Linked DNA regions of Homo sapiens: regions 2, 3, 4 and 5 are each linked to region 1. The links are contacts of gene promoters, found by promoter capture Hi-C in blood cells and fetal thymus (Javierre and others, 2016). All regions are on one chromosome and are shown on one strand. The core of a region is centred on a gene start or on the middle of the fragment in contact, and the rest is flanking DNA. Distances in the headings are between cores, read along the strand shown. Region 1 holds the start of ZRANB2-AS1 (ZRANB2 antisense RNA 1). Region 2 has its middle 110 kb from the start of LINC01788. Region 3 has its middle 87 kb from the start of LINC01788. Region 4 has its middle 48 kb from the start of LINC01788. Region 5 overlaps LINC01788 (long intergenic non-protein coding RNA 1788).

Region 1 (2,525 bases), core at 20-2,519:
TTTCAAATGCAAGGGATTTAAAAGTATACATGGCGCACAAAAAACTCAACGTACTTAATGCCTAATGCCACTGAACTGTACACATAATAATGGTTAAAATACTGAATTGTATGTAATATATTTTACCATAATTAGGAAAGAAAAAAAACTGCGTTCACGTGTTTCAAAGGTTTTCCACAACTGTATAATACATATAGTTGGTTATACCTTTGTAACAGTGACCATATCGCTCTTTCTGCAACATCTATTAACCCAGACACCCCAGGGCCTAAGTAAGCATCCATTCTTCAGGAATTAGTAAACAGCACTTACACACGGACATTTCTAGCTAAAAGTAACACAGACAAAAAAACCTCAAAAATATCACGTAAGGGCAGGTGTTAGGCAAAGAGCCTCTGCAAACATCCCTTGCTCCTCTGCATTGCTCTGGTGTGAGGAGCTAGGACATGGAGAAACCTCTACCTCCTATCTCAGGATTAGCGAACCCTGCTTGAGTGCTACAAGGGTAAGTAAATGCTGGCCTGAAGAAGCTGCTGAGCTTCCGGATCCCACTGACTGTCGTTCGGGCACTTCCTAGAGGGTCAAGCACCATGGCGAAAGGCTGAGGAGGCAACTCGTATCTTTCATTCTCCTGCCTCATCAAGAATGAACCTTGAAGGCACCCATAGGTCGCGCAGTCTTTCAGAAGCTGCAGGAGGGCTGTGACTGTATGGGGTTGCAGACTGAAAATCTTATTAACGTGAAAGAGGAATTTGAAATTAAAAAAAAAAAACCCGGCCGGGCGCGGTGGCTCACGCTTGTAATCCCAGCACTTTGGGAGGCCGAGGCGGGTGGATCACGAGGTCAGGAGATCGAGACCACGGTGAAACCCCGTCTCTACTAAAAATAAAAAAAAAAAATTAGCCGGGCGTGGTGGCGGGCGCCTGTAGTCCCAGCTACTCGGAGAGGCTGAGGCAGGAGAATGGCGTGAACCCGGGAGGCGGAGCTTGCAGTGAGCCGAGGCTGCGCCACTGTACTCCAGCCTGGGTGACAGAGCGAGACTCCGTCTCAAAAAAAAAAAAAAAAAAAAACCCCACAATATCAGGCTACAGTTATCATAGCAATTCTGCTTTTAATGCACTCAGGACAAACTTCTAGCTCTGCATATATGTCATTTCAATGACACATCCTGTCTCCTACCCGACTAGAATGTGAGCAGCCCTGTGATCTCTATGTGCTCATAAACAGTGCCTAATGCGAATCCTGGCTCTTGGAAGGCGCTCAGCTAGTAAGTGAGGAGCTCAGCTCTGAAGCTGTAACCAAGACCGCGCGGGCAGGAGGAAAGGACACTTCAGCGCTCTGCGGTTGCAAACACACCCCTGCGGGTGCTGCCACTTAGCAAAGTCTTAGGTTCCCGCTTACTCGCACACGCATCCTGACTTCCCCCAACCCTGGAACTACCTACCAGGAGCGGAGACCAGCAGACCGACAGCACGCACATGATCCCCATAAGCTGAATGGCCGTCTCGGTCGTGATGCGGCCCCACTGGGCACTGGACTGAGATGCCGTGGCCTTGGCCCGGCAGCGGGACACCAGGGCCTTAATGGTGGCCAGGTTGCAGGAAAAGGTGACTGTCAGCGCCAAGAGCCCCAGGAAGGCAAAGGCAGAGGCGAAGAAAAGGTTGCCCCAGTTATGCGAAGAGCTAGTCCCGTTGCCCCCTCGCCCGGTGCTGATGAAGCACCACGTCCCGGGCCACTGGACGGTGTACTGGCCCACGCCCAGCACCGGCAGCAGGGCGAAGGCGAGCACGGCCAGCCACACGCCGAGCAGCACAGCGCGGGTGGCACGCGTCTTCATGTGGCTCGCATACCAGTGCGGCGCCCTGATGGCCAGCGCCCGCTCGACGGCCATGGCGCTGGCGATGAACAACGAGGAGAGCCCGAAAACAGTCATGGTCAGCCCGAAAAAGGTGCAGAGCCGCCCCGACGGGTCGATGTGCTCCCAACGCTGCTTGGACAGGTACACGACGATGACGACCGGGGTGGTGAGAAGCTGCCCGACCAGGTCGGTGAGCGCCAGCCAGCCGATGCACAGCAGGAAGGACTTCTTGCGCTTGCTCTCCCGGCGCCGGTAGCTGCGCGACACGAGCAGCATGGCCAGTGCGTTGCCCACGAAACCAGTGAGCAGCATGGTGATCGGGAAGGCCACGGACACCGATCCGCAATCCTCGCCAGACCCTGGAGGGCGCGTGAGGTTGCCCCGCGCCTCGGCGGAACGCTCGGGCGCCCACATGCCTGTGTAGGAGTGGTTGAGGCGGGTGCAGAAGGGGGCATCCCCTCCGTAGCCCCGGGTCTCCTTCATGTTGGCTTCGAGGTGAGGAGGGGATGGCGTCCAGAGAGCCGCAGCGGGAGGGGGCAGACGCGGCGCGGGCGGCGGCGGAGGTCGGCGTTTACCGCGGCTGGGGCTGGGCTGCCCCCCATGGTGCGGGGCGCAGCCGCCGCCCTACTCCGCTGCTGGGACCGCGGCCGCGGCGGCGCCAGGGCTC
Region 2 (2,525 bases), core at 15-2,514, 450 kb before region 1:
GGTGTCCTGGGTCCTCCCAATTCTTAGGCCTTTTATACCTGTTTTTCTCCTTCTCTTATTCCATTTAGTTTTTCAATTCATACAAAACCATATCCAGGCCATCACCAATAATTCTACACGACAAATATTTCTTCTAACAACCCCACAATATCACCCCTTACCACAAAATCTTCCTTCAGCTTAATCTCTCCCACTCTAGGTTCCCACGCCGCCCCTAATCCCGCTCGAAGCAGCCCTGAGAAATATCGCCCATTATCTCTCCACACCACCCCCCAAAATTTTCACCATCCCAACACTTTACCACTATTTCATTTTATTTTTCTTATTAATATAAGAAGACAGGAATGTCAGGCCTCTGAGCCCAAGCTAAACCATCATATCCCTGTGACCTGCACGTACACATCCAGATGGCCCGTTTCTGCCTTAACTGATGACATTCCACCACAAAAGAAGTGAAAATGGCCTGTTCCTGCCTTAACTGATGACATTTTCTTGTGAAATTCCTGGCTCATCCTGGCTCAAAAGCTCCCCTACTGAGCACCTTGTGACCCCCCACTCTGCCCTCCAGAGAACAACCCCCCTTGACTGTAATTTTCCTTTATCTACCCAAATCCTATAAAATGGCCCCACCCTTATCTCCCTTCGCTGACTCTTTTTGGACTCAGCCCACCTGCACCCAGGTGATTAAAAGCTTTATTGCTCACACAAAGCCTTTTTGGTGGTCTCTTAATACGGACGACGCGCATGAAAGTAATCATCTCTGCTATATCCTTTCAGTCCTGCCAGAAACACTTAGAAATGGATTTGGTAGAAGGAAGAAAGCAGGCTAAGAGATCTAGTACTTCAGCACTACATTGTAGGAAGCAAGTGAAAGCCAAGAAAGCAAACATTTTGCCACTTAATGTAATTTCACCAATAAATATGAGGTGCCAGAAAATTGATGTTTAGGTCCCAGGAGGCAAAAGATGGTTTAACTTTACTGCCTACTTTAGTTCACTTTTAGGCATGGTTTATCAGAAAAAATTTGAGACATGGCACTAACCTTTATTAATGAAGGTATTAACCTTTATGTAATGAAAAGTAGCACTTCTTTTCCAAAACCCCATTACAGCAACATGTGTAAATGTTGCACAAAAAGACCTATCTATGCAAATATATTGTCACTCAGAATGAATTGAAAGCATTCAAATAATTTTTTGTAAATGATTATTTGGTATTACAAACTAAATCAGGTGAGAGATGACTTTGTCAAGCACCAACTCCCAGATTCTCATTTCTCTTGACCCTTGACCACGCTGAGGACCATATACCAGGAAAACTGCACCTGAGCAGGAGAATGGATCTAACCACTAGAATTTGTTTTTCAATGTGTCCTGAGAGCACGCTTTTTGACCATGGTCCTTCCTAGGCCTTACTACCTTTCTCTCTGGGAACCAACACAGAAATCTTTCTGTGACTTTCTGGTTCAAAGAAGCTGAAGGAGCTTACAAGCCAGAGGTAATGATATAGCCCCAGAACTTTAATGATGCATAAAAGCATATTAGAGTAATTTCATATTAATATAAAAATCTTATTTTTCTTTTTCTTATATAACCTAGTTTAGGAAAATAATAATAACCATAAAGTAAGAAGTGATTAGTGCATTACCCTTTGGAAGAGAGTCTACCTTTGCTGGCCTCTCCCTCTAGGGTCAAATTTCAGAGTGATTTTGATGCTGGTGCTCTAGAGCCACCATGTTTATTTCCTTGTAGAAATTAAGAAGCAAAATGTTAGTCATTAATGGGAAGATGCCAGAGAATGCAGAGCCATTTTTAGAATAGGGGAGTCAGCATTTCTAAAAAGCTTGTTATATATTCATGAGATTTCTTTTATTATTATTATTATTATTATACTTTAAGTTTTAGGGTACATGTGCACAATGTGCAGGTTAGTTACATATGTATACATGTGCCATGCTGGTGCGCTGCACCCACTAACTCGTCATCTAGCATTAGGTCTATCTCCCAATGCTATCCCTCCCCCCTCCCCCCACTCCACAACAGTCCCCAGAGTGTGATGTTCCCCTTCCTGTGTCCATGTGCTCTCACTGTTCAATTCCCACCTATGAGTGAGAATATGCAGTGTTTGGTTTTTTGTTCTTGCAACAGTTTACTGAGAATGATGATTTCCAGTTTCATCCATGTCCCTACAAAGGACGTGAACTCATCATTTTTTATGGCTGCATAGTATTCCATGGTGTATATGTGCCACATTTTCTTAATCCAGTCTATCATTGTTGGACATTTGGGTTGGTTCCAAGTCTTTGCTATTGTGAATAATGCTGCAATAAACATACATGTGCATGTGTCTTTATAGCAGCATGATTTATAATCCTTTGGGTATATACCCAGTAATGGGATGGCTGGGTCAAATGGTATTTCTAGTTCTAGATCCCTGAGGAATCACCACACTGACTTCCACAATGGTTGAACTAGTTTACAGTCCCACCAACAGTGTAAAATTGTTCCTATTTCTCCACATCCTCT
Region 3 (2,525 bases), core at 19-2,518, 430 kb before region 1:
ATTGGTTTTTTGACCAGCTAGAACACCAGAAACATTAGTTGAAACCCCAGAAAGGCCATACTTTAAGAGGTTTACTCCAGCCTCAGAATAAGGGCTACTCCTGATCTTTTCTAGTAAAGCTAAAACAAAGCATCAACACTGTCAATTTGACTTGCCAGTAAATTAATTGCCTTCCAAAACAAAACTCAACACCCTTTAATATGATTCAGTCACACAACAACCTGACTGTCTTAGCCTATTAGGACTGCTATAATGAAATACCATAAACTGGGTGATTTATAAATAACAGACATTTGTTTCTCACAGTTCTAAAAGCTGGGAAGCCCAAGATCAAGGCACTGGCCAATTTTGTATCTGACAAAGGCCTGCTTCCTAGTTCATAGAAGGGTGACTTCTTGCTGTGTCCTTGCATGATGGAAGAGACTAACTAGCTCTATGTGGTCTCTTTTATAAGGGTGCTAATCCTAATTATGAGAGCACTGCCTTCATGATCTAATCACCCCCAAAGGCCCCACCTCCTAATACCATCATCTTGGGAATTAGGATTTCAATATATAAATTTTAGGAGTGGGGAAACAAACATTCACACCACAGCAATAACATTCACAATGTTTGGCATCTCCTAAAAGATAGTTAACATTCAAAGAAGCAGAAAAATGTGACCTATAATAAATAGAAAAATCAGTCAATATAAACAGATCAAGAAATGACAAAGATGATGGAATCATTAGAAAAAGCTTATATAGAAATTATATATATATGTTTAGAAAGTACATATATATGATTAAAATTTTATAGGAACAAATAAATATAATAAGGAAAGAAATGGGTAAAGTAAAAAAGAAACAAATGGTACTCACAGAGCTAAAAATACAATTAACCAAATGGAAAATTCATTAGGTGAGTTAAACAACAGATTAGACACTGAAGAAAAAATGGTAAGTGATCTTAAAGACATAGCAACAGAAACTATCCAAGATAAAGACTTTTAAAAAAAGACTGAAATAATATGAAAAAAGCCTCAATTACCTCTGAACAGCCTTTATAGGCTTGCACATTTTCAGTAACATAGGCTCCACACTCAGGAGGGGCCTCACTAGGTTTAGTGCTGTGTCATTGCCTCTTAACATTCTCAACAATTTTTGAATAAAGAGTCTCTCATTTTTATTTTGCACTGGCCCTCCAAACTATGTAGCTGGTCCTGACTAGAGGATAATATTAAACAGTCTGACATGCATGTACTTTGAGTCCTAGAACTCTCTGAGGACAATGGGAGATACAAAAATATTTGAAGACTAATGGTAGGAATATTTCCAAATTCCTTGATATAAATCTGCTGGCTCAAAAAGCTAAGGAAACTACATTAAAAAAAGGAAGAAGACAGTACTACAGATAATCATAATCAAATAGCTGAAAATCAGTAATAAAGAGAAAAACTTAAACGCATCCAGAGAAAAGTTAATATGGGGGAACAAAAAAGAATTACCACAGATTTCTCTTCAGAAATCATTCAAGCCAGAGACAATGGAGCAATATCTTTAGTGCTAAAAGAAAAAAAAGTAAAACCTTTAACCTAACATTTTATATCAGGCAAACATCCTTCAAAATTAAAGGCTTATTCAGACAAAAAATTCCTTAGGGATTTCATCACCAGCAGGCCTAAACTACAGGGAATATTAAAAGAACATTTTCAGGCTAAAGAAAAATGATAGCAGATGGAAATCTGGATATATAAAAAGCAATTAAGAGCATTATAAATAGTAAGTAAAAATCTCAAGATTCTTTAAAGACAACATAATCCAAGCTTTCAGCAATACAGAACTCATAATAATCAGAAGGCAATTGATAATTAGTGCTAGTCAACATATAAGGGAGCAGGAAAATGTGACCTATTGCCAGAAGAAAAAATCATCAATAGAAGCTAATGAGAATGTGAGACCATGGATTATTTTTAGTTAGTAAACTTTTTTTTTTTAGAACTGTTTGAGGTTCACAGTAAAATCAAATGAAAAGTACAGAGAGTTCTCACATACCTCCTGTCTTGACACATGTACAAGCTTCGCCCTGACCATTGACATGCTCCGTCTGAGTGGTACATTTGTTACAAGTGATGAACCTACACTGATACATCGTTATCACCCGAAGTTGATAGTCTATATTAGGGTTCACTGTTGTTATTGCACATTTGGTAGGTTTCAACAAATACATAATGACATGGATCCACCATTGTATCATACAGGATAATTTCACTGCCCCAAAAATCTTCTGTGCTCTGCCCATTCATGTCTCCCACTCTCATTAACCCCTGAAAAATCACTTATCCTTTTCCAATCTCCATAGTTTTGTCTTTCCCAGAATGTCATATGGTTGGAATTATACAGCATATAGCCTTTTCGGATTGGCTTCCTTTCACTTAGTAATATGCATTTAATTTTCCTCCATGTCTTTTCATGGCTTGAAAACTCTCTCTTTTTTTTTCCAGTACTGAATAACATCCCATTGTTTAAATGTCCCACAGTTTATTT
Region 4 (2,525 bases), core at 15-2,514, 390 kb before region 1:
ACCTTCTGTCCTGGATTGTTGTTTCACTCTCCAAGCACAAGATAAACTTCCCCAGTGCATCTGTAAACTTCTTATAGACAAGGACAATTATTATTATCTTATTTTTAGAATTAAGATTATTGGAAATTAACACTGATCATTCAAATTTCAAGTTATTTTGGAAACTTTACATTCAAAAACTTTTTATGCCTTCTTACATATTTCCCTATAACCAACAGAAGCATTCAAAGTTAAGTTTTGAAAGTTGGAGTCATTTATTAAAAAACAAAAAAATGCACATTAACTAGTCTCAATAATTTAAAGCTTCACAATTAATTTTATATTTGAGGATTTCTTTGTACCTCTAGCACTTTCCAAATTTAAACTAAGTGCTCAGAGTTTTATGTACAATTATCTTGGATATGACTTTACCTAAGCTTATGTTTCTCACCAACTGGAGTACTAATATCCCCTGGGAAAACTTGAGTTTGTAGCAGGGATACTTAAATGCAATAAAATAAATATGATAAATAATTTTTCTAAAAAGTGCCAATTAACTCAAGAGAAATAAATCTTAGGTTCACACAAAAACCCATATGGAAATATTTACAGTGACTGTATTTATAATCACCAAAGACTGTGAACAACTCAACTGATTAATGGATATTCAACTTTGGTACATCCGCAAAATGGAACACTGCTCAGTGATAAAAGGAAAAAAATGATTGATTCATGCAACAATATGGAAGAATCTCAAATGTCTTATGTTAGTGAAATAAGCCAAGCTCAAAAGGCTTAATAGTGTATAAGCCCAATTATATGACATTGTGGGAAAAGACAAACTACAAGTACAGAGAACAGATCAGTTGTTGCCAGGAGCTGGGTGGGAAGGGGTTGACTATACAAAGAGGCATTTTTGGGGTGACGGATTGTTGTATATATTGATTGTGGTGTGGTTACATGACACTATACATTTGTCAATACTCATAGAATGTACACCAAAAGAGTAAATTTTACTATATTACATTTAAAAAATTATATGACAAGAAGCCTATGATGGCAAGATGTTATAAAATTTGTGCTTTCAGTATAGTAATTTGTTACATTTTCTGAAGTAATTTATCTATGTATTTCCAGATTTCCTTCCTTCCTTTCTCCTTCCTTCCTTCCTTCCTTCCTTCTTCTTTCTTTCTTTCCTTCTTTCTTTCATTCTTCTTTCTTTCTTTTTGTGTCTTACTCTGTTGCCCAGGCTGGAGTGCAGTGGCACGATCTCCGCTCACTGCAACCTCTGCCTCCTGGGTTCATGCAATTCTCCTGCCTCAGCCTCCCGAGTAGCTGGGATTACAGGCACATGACATCACGCTTAGCTAATTTTCATACTTTTAGTAGAGATGGGGTTTCGCCATGTTGGCCAGGCTGGTCTCGAACTCCTGACCTCAGGTGATCTGCCGCTTCGGCCTCCCCAAGTGCTGGGATTACAGGCATGAGCCACTGCCCTGGGTCTCCAGATTTTCATTCAATTATTCCATACTGAAAAATGTATCCTAAGAAAATCATAACAATATGAAAAACCTAAATACATAGTGATGTTCATTACCTTTTTAATTGATGAAAATGCTGCCTTATTGCTTTTACTTGCATTTCTGTATTTGCTAGCAAAATTTTATATTTTTCTTATGTTTGTTAGACAGTTTTATGAGAAAGAGTAAGATTAATATCCTCCAGTGGTTGAAGAGTAGCAGATCTTCTGTTCTCTTCTCAACAAACATACAGAGCCATTCATTTCTGTGAAATAATTACAGATAGCCTGGGATTTAGTAAAATTTTTACTGTTGTTGTAGAAAAATAAACACATTGACATAAAAAATACGATTGCTAGTCAGGCTATTTAGTAAGATTTGGGTTTAAGAGTCTTTAGAACATTTTTATCGTTGAAAATTTGTCCTCAAATTTTAACTTTTCTAATTCAGTCAGAACTCTTGAATTTCATATGTTTAATATAAGAATATGGGAAATGAAAACCACAAGTTTTGTGCATTCATTTTCCTTGGGAGCTTACAATTTTGAACTCAACCCAAACTTTTCATTCTTTTGCATTCATTTAATTTTGGCAAAAGGTGCCTTTTCGTTCATGAAGCTTTTAAACTGTCCATTAGATACTGCAAAACAACATTTTGAAGAATGAAAAATAGATGAATGTAAACCACAAAATGCTTTCTTAAAAATGGCCATGTATTTAAAAAATAAATAAGGAAAGTGCTATAAAAATGTGCTAGGATAAGGTGAGAAGGTAAATATTTGTGAGTGTGAAGACCATCTGTAGCAATGACAAAAACTAGAGATACAGTGCCTCCTCATTCATGATTCAGTCACTAAATGTTTCTTGAGCATCTACTATGTCTACAATGTTCTATGCACAGTGATTTTTTTTTTGTTTTACAAAGTAGGCAACAATCCCTTCCTTCATGGCCCTCACATTCTAGCTTACTCAGAAACGGGAACAGGTGGAATTTAGTTCATCCTCAGGTGTTTTTTTACCTTTTTGC
Region 5 (2,525 bases), core at 11-2,510, 320 kb before region 1:
TTAAGCATTTATCATGTTATCATTTAATTATGTATTTATCTTTTCAGTTAGGCCATGCCAAATATAGAGGCTATGCATTTTTCACTGTGGTACCCAGTCTCCAAAATAAAACAGCATCTGGCACATAGCAGGCACTCAAATACTTTTTTTTTCTTAGTGCGGTGTGCAAAGCCTTCCTATGACTTGCCTCAAATGTGTGGCCTTGTGTTTCATTACTGCCTACCCCTGGACCCTTGCACTAGAAATGTCCCCTGCACTTCTATAATATGCCATGCTCTTTTACTCCTTGTTTCCATCCCCACTTTTATGATGGTATGATTGTGTGACTGCGGTACTCACTGCCTAATCCACCCTCACTGTAATACCCCAGGCCCACACAAGCACACACACTTGACTAACTCCTACCTGTCCTGCAATAATAAACTCAAACACCATTTTCTCCAGACTGCCTCTTGGTTAGAACTCTGTTTGGGGACACCTCTTATATGTTGCCATTTGTACCCTCTGCATGTAACAATAACCAATATTTCAGGCATTGGCCCAAGCGCTTCCCTATACTAGCTCATTTAATCTTCACAATAACCTTATGAAGTAGCAACTATTAGTAGCTGCAGTTTCAAATGAGACCAGGAGACTCAGAGAGGCTGAATAATTTCTTCAAGTGGCAAGTGGCATGCCAGAATGAAACCCAGACAGTCTGACTTCAGAGTCTGTACTCTTAAGACCTTTCTGTTCTACTTCTTCCACAACAATGCATAACATCTTTATCACAGTATTCATTATCCATCACTGTAATTTCTAATCTTCTTTTCTTCTATGCAAGCCTAGACAAAACACACTATATTCAATGCCAAAGACTTAGAAGGTAGATAAATACATCTGGAAGTCATGTAGTTAGCTAGATTTCAGGACATAAGTGGGCTTTGAAATAGATCTTGAAGAAACAATTGGTTGTGTGCAAGGTAGCAGTGGCAGAACAGACAAGGTTGGGTGAGCCAAGTGCTAACTAGGCTGACATGAATCCTGAGTGGTTAGAGGAAGGTGAGATGAGGTGATTATAGCTCAGGTGATGATGAAGGAAAAGAGTTTATGCTGGAAAATGTTGGGGACTAAAAGCCACAGGAAGGCAGTGATGGGATGTGATTTGTGAAGTCTAAGAAAGTTTGCAGTAGCAGTACTTTGCATGCTCTGGGACTATATACACTGGCAAAGGGAAAAGGGAAGTGAAGCATTTAACTGGTAAATTTCAAAAATATAAGTGGACATATGGATAATTCAGGTATGTACCTCCTTTTCTAATGTAGTGCTGGAATGGCCAGATGCCCCCCCATGAATAGCTGATAAGTTTTCTTATATCGACAAGTACAACATATGTTAATTCAGTGTTTCTAATACATCAACTTCCTTTACAAGTTGTTTTGCCATATCCGTGTACTCCTTGTAATTTTATTAATATTTTTATTTAAATCAATTTAGATCTTAGAAAACATATACTTTTTTCAAAGGTAACATTATATAAATAAAAAACCATTTGCCTTCTCTTAAAAAGAAGATAAAAGTAGTCAAGACAAAGATATTGACCATAAACCGTATAAATCATCTCATATATTATGAGTAATACACATACTATGGTTTGGAAAAGATTGCATTATTTCTTTAGATTGATATATACATATTTTCATTGTTTTATAAGTCAGGCAAGCAAAGCTAGGGGAAATTAAGTTGGTGCTTAAGGTCACACTATTGCTCACAGAAAAAGTTAGGACAAATACCCAGGTTGTGTGCTCTAATCTGGTATTTATTATAGCCCAAAAGAAGGCAATTGCTAAGTAGGGCCCTGAAAAGACAAAACCTAAAGCGGGGTTGGTAGAAGTGTGCTCCCAGTGTGACCAGGGAGCAGGGTGGTGGCATTGGGACCTGGCTAGATAAAGAGGCCCCAGGCTATTTAAATATCCTAGATGACCCTCAGTGAGAAAGATCTCTGGGAATACAGCTTGATATTGGGGTCTCCATCCTCACATCCACCCATCCTTGGCCACTTAAATTCAATTCTGTTCTGAAACCCATAGTAGGGCTAGAAATAATTTCCAGCCTGGAAGCCATTTGGAGGTCCTGAGGATAGCCTACACCTATTTAGAAATTTTTATCTCTAACAGATGGTGGTTCTGTGAGAGGAATCTTTGGGATTAAACCAGAGGCCAAGCCTCTGGATGAGCTTCCGTCAAGTGCTTGTCCTCCAGCTTTTTTCCATGGTGCTTTGAGAATCCATCTGGTGACATCCAATCTGTAAATGTCATAGAGCACAAGAAATATGGGATGGCCTCAGTCTGGGATAGAATAAATAAGATTTTAGGAAGCTCCTGAGGGAGTCCAAGTCCTAGGAACAATGCTAATAACTATATATCAAAGGAGAATTAAATGACACATTCCTTAGAATTACACATTAAATATTTAATTAAGTATGTAGTAGGTGCTAAATAAATGCTTATTAGGAAAATATAACAGTTTTTGAAGTCTTTCCTCAA

What was found. The method cuts DNA at HindIII sites, captures the fragments that hold promoters and counts their contacts. A CHiCAGO score of 5 or more calls a contact.
Region 2: a fragment that was not itself captured here is called in contact with the fragment with the promoter of ZRANB2-AS1 in region 1 in 1 of 17 cell types (erythroblasts); the score reaches 5.2 in erythroblasts.
Region 3: a fragment that was not itself captured here is called in contact with the fragment with the promoter of ZRANB2-AS1 in region 1 in 1 of 17 cell types (erythroblasts); the score reaches 5.1 in erythroblasts.
Region 4: a contact is called between a fragment that was not itself captured here and the fragment with the promoter of ZRANB2-AS1 in region 1, in 4 of 17 cell types (megakaryocytes, erythroblasts, endothelial precursors and 1 more). The highest score is 6.7, in megakaryocytes.
Region 5: a fragment that was not itself captured here is called in contact with the fragment with the promoter of ZRANB2-AS1 in region 1 in 1 of 17 cell types (M2 macrophages); the score reaches 5.5 in M2 macrophages.

Annotation. Positions count from the first base shown.
Region 1 is chr1:71,045,237-71,047,761 of GRCh38, forward strand. ZRANB2-AS1 (ZRANB2 antisense RNA 1) reads left to right here and starts at 1,270. Exons shown (of 3, transcript NR_038420.1): 1 at 1,270-2,353. It overlaps PTGER3 (prostaglandin E receptor 3), which reads right to left. Exons shown (of 4, transcript NM_198719.2): 1 at 1,445-2,525. The coding sequence starts at 2,341. RefSeq lists an enhancer at 1,994-2,525. The HindIII fragment of the contact is 6,286 bases long and covers 1-2,525 here.
Region 2 is chr1:70,593,244-70,595,768 of GRCh38, forward strand. No RefSeq gene overlaps it. Among named protein-coding and RNA genes, the nearest start is that of LINC01788, 110 kb to the right of the region's middle. The HindIII fragment of the contact is 1,151 bases long and covers 690-1,840 here.
Region 3 is chr1:70,618,017-70,620,541 of GRCh38, forward strand. No RefSeq gene overlaps it. Among named protein-coding and RNA genes, the nearest start is that of LINC01788, 87 kb to the right of the region's middle. The HindIII fragment of the contact is 1,067 bases long and covers 736-1,802 here.
Region 4 is chr1:70,656,938-70,659,462 of GRCh38, forward strand. No RefSeq gene overlaps it. Among named protein-coding and RNA genes, the nearest start is that of LINC01788, 48 kb to the right of the region's middle. The HindIII fragment of the contact is 1,700 bases long and covers 415-2,114 here.
Region 5 is chr1:70,728,825-70,731,349 of GRCh38, forward strand. The region is part of intron 5 of LINC01788 (long intergenic non-protein coding RNA 1788); the gene reads left to right. Among named protein-coding and RNA genes, the nearest start is that of LINC01788, 24 kb to the left of the region's middle. The HindIII fragment of the contact is 7,441 bases long and covers 1-2,525 here.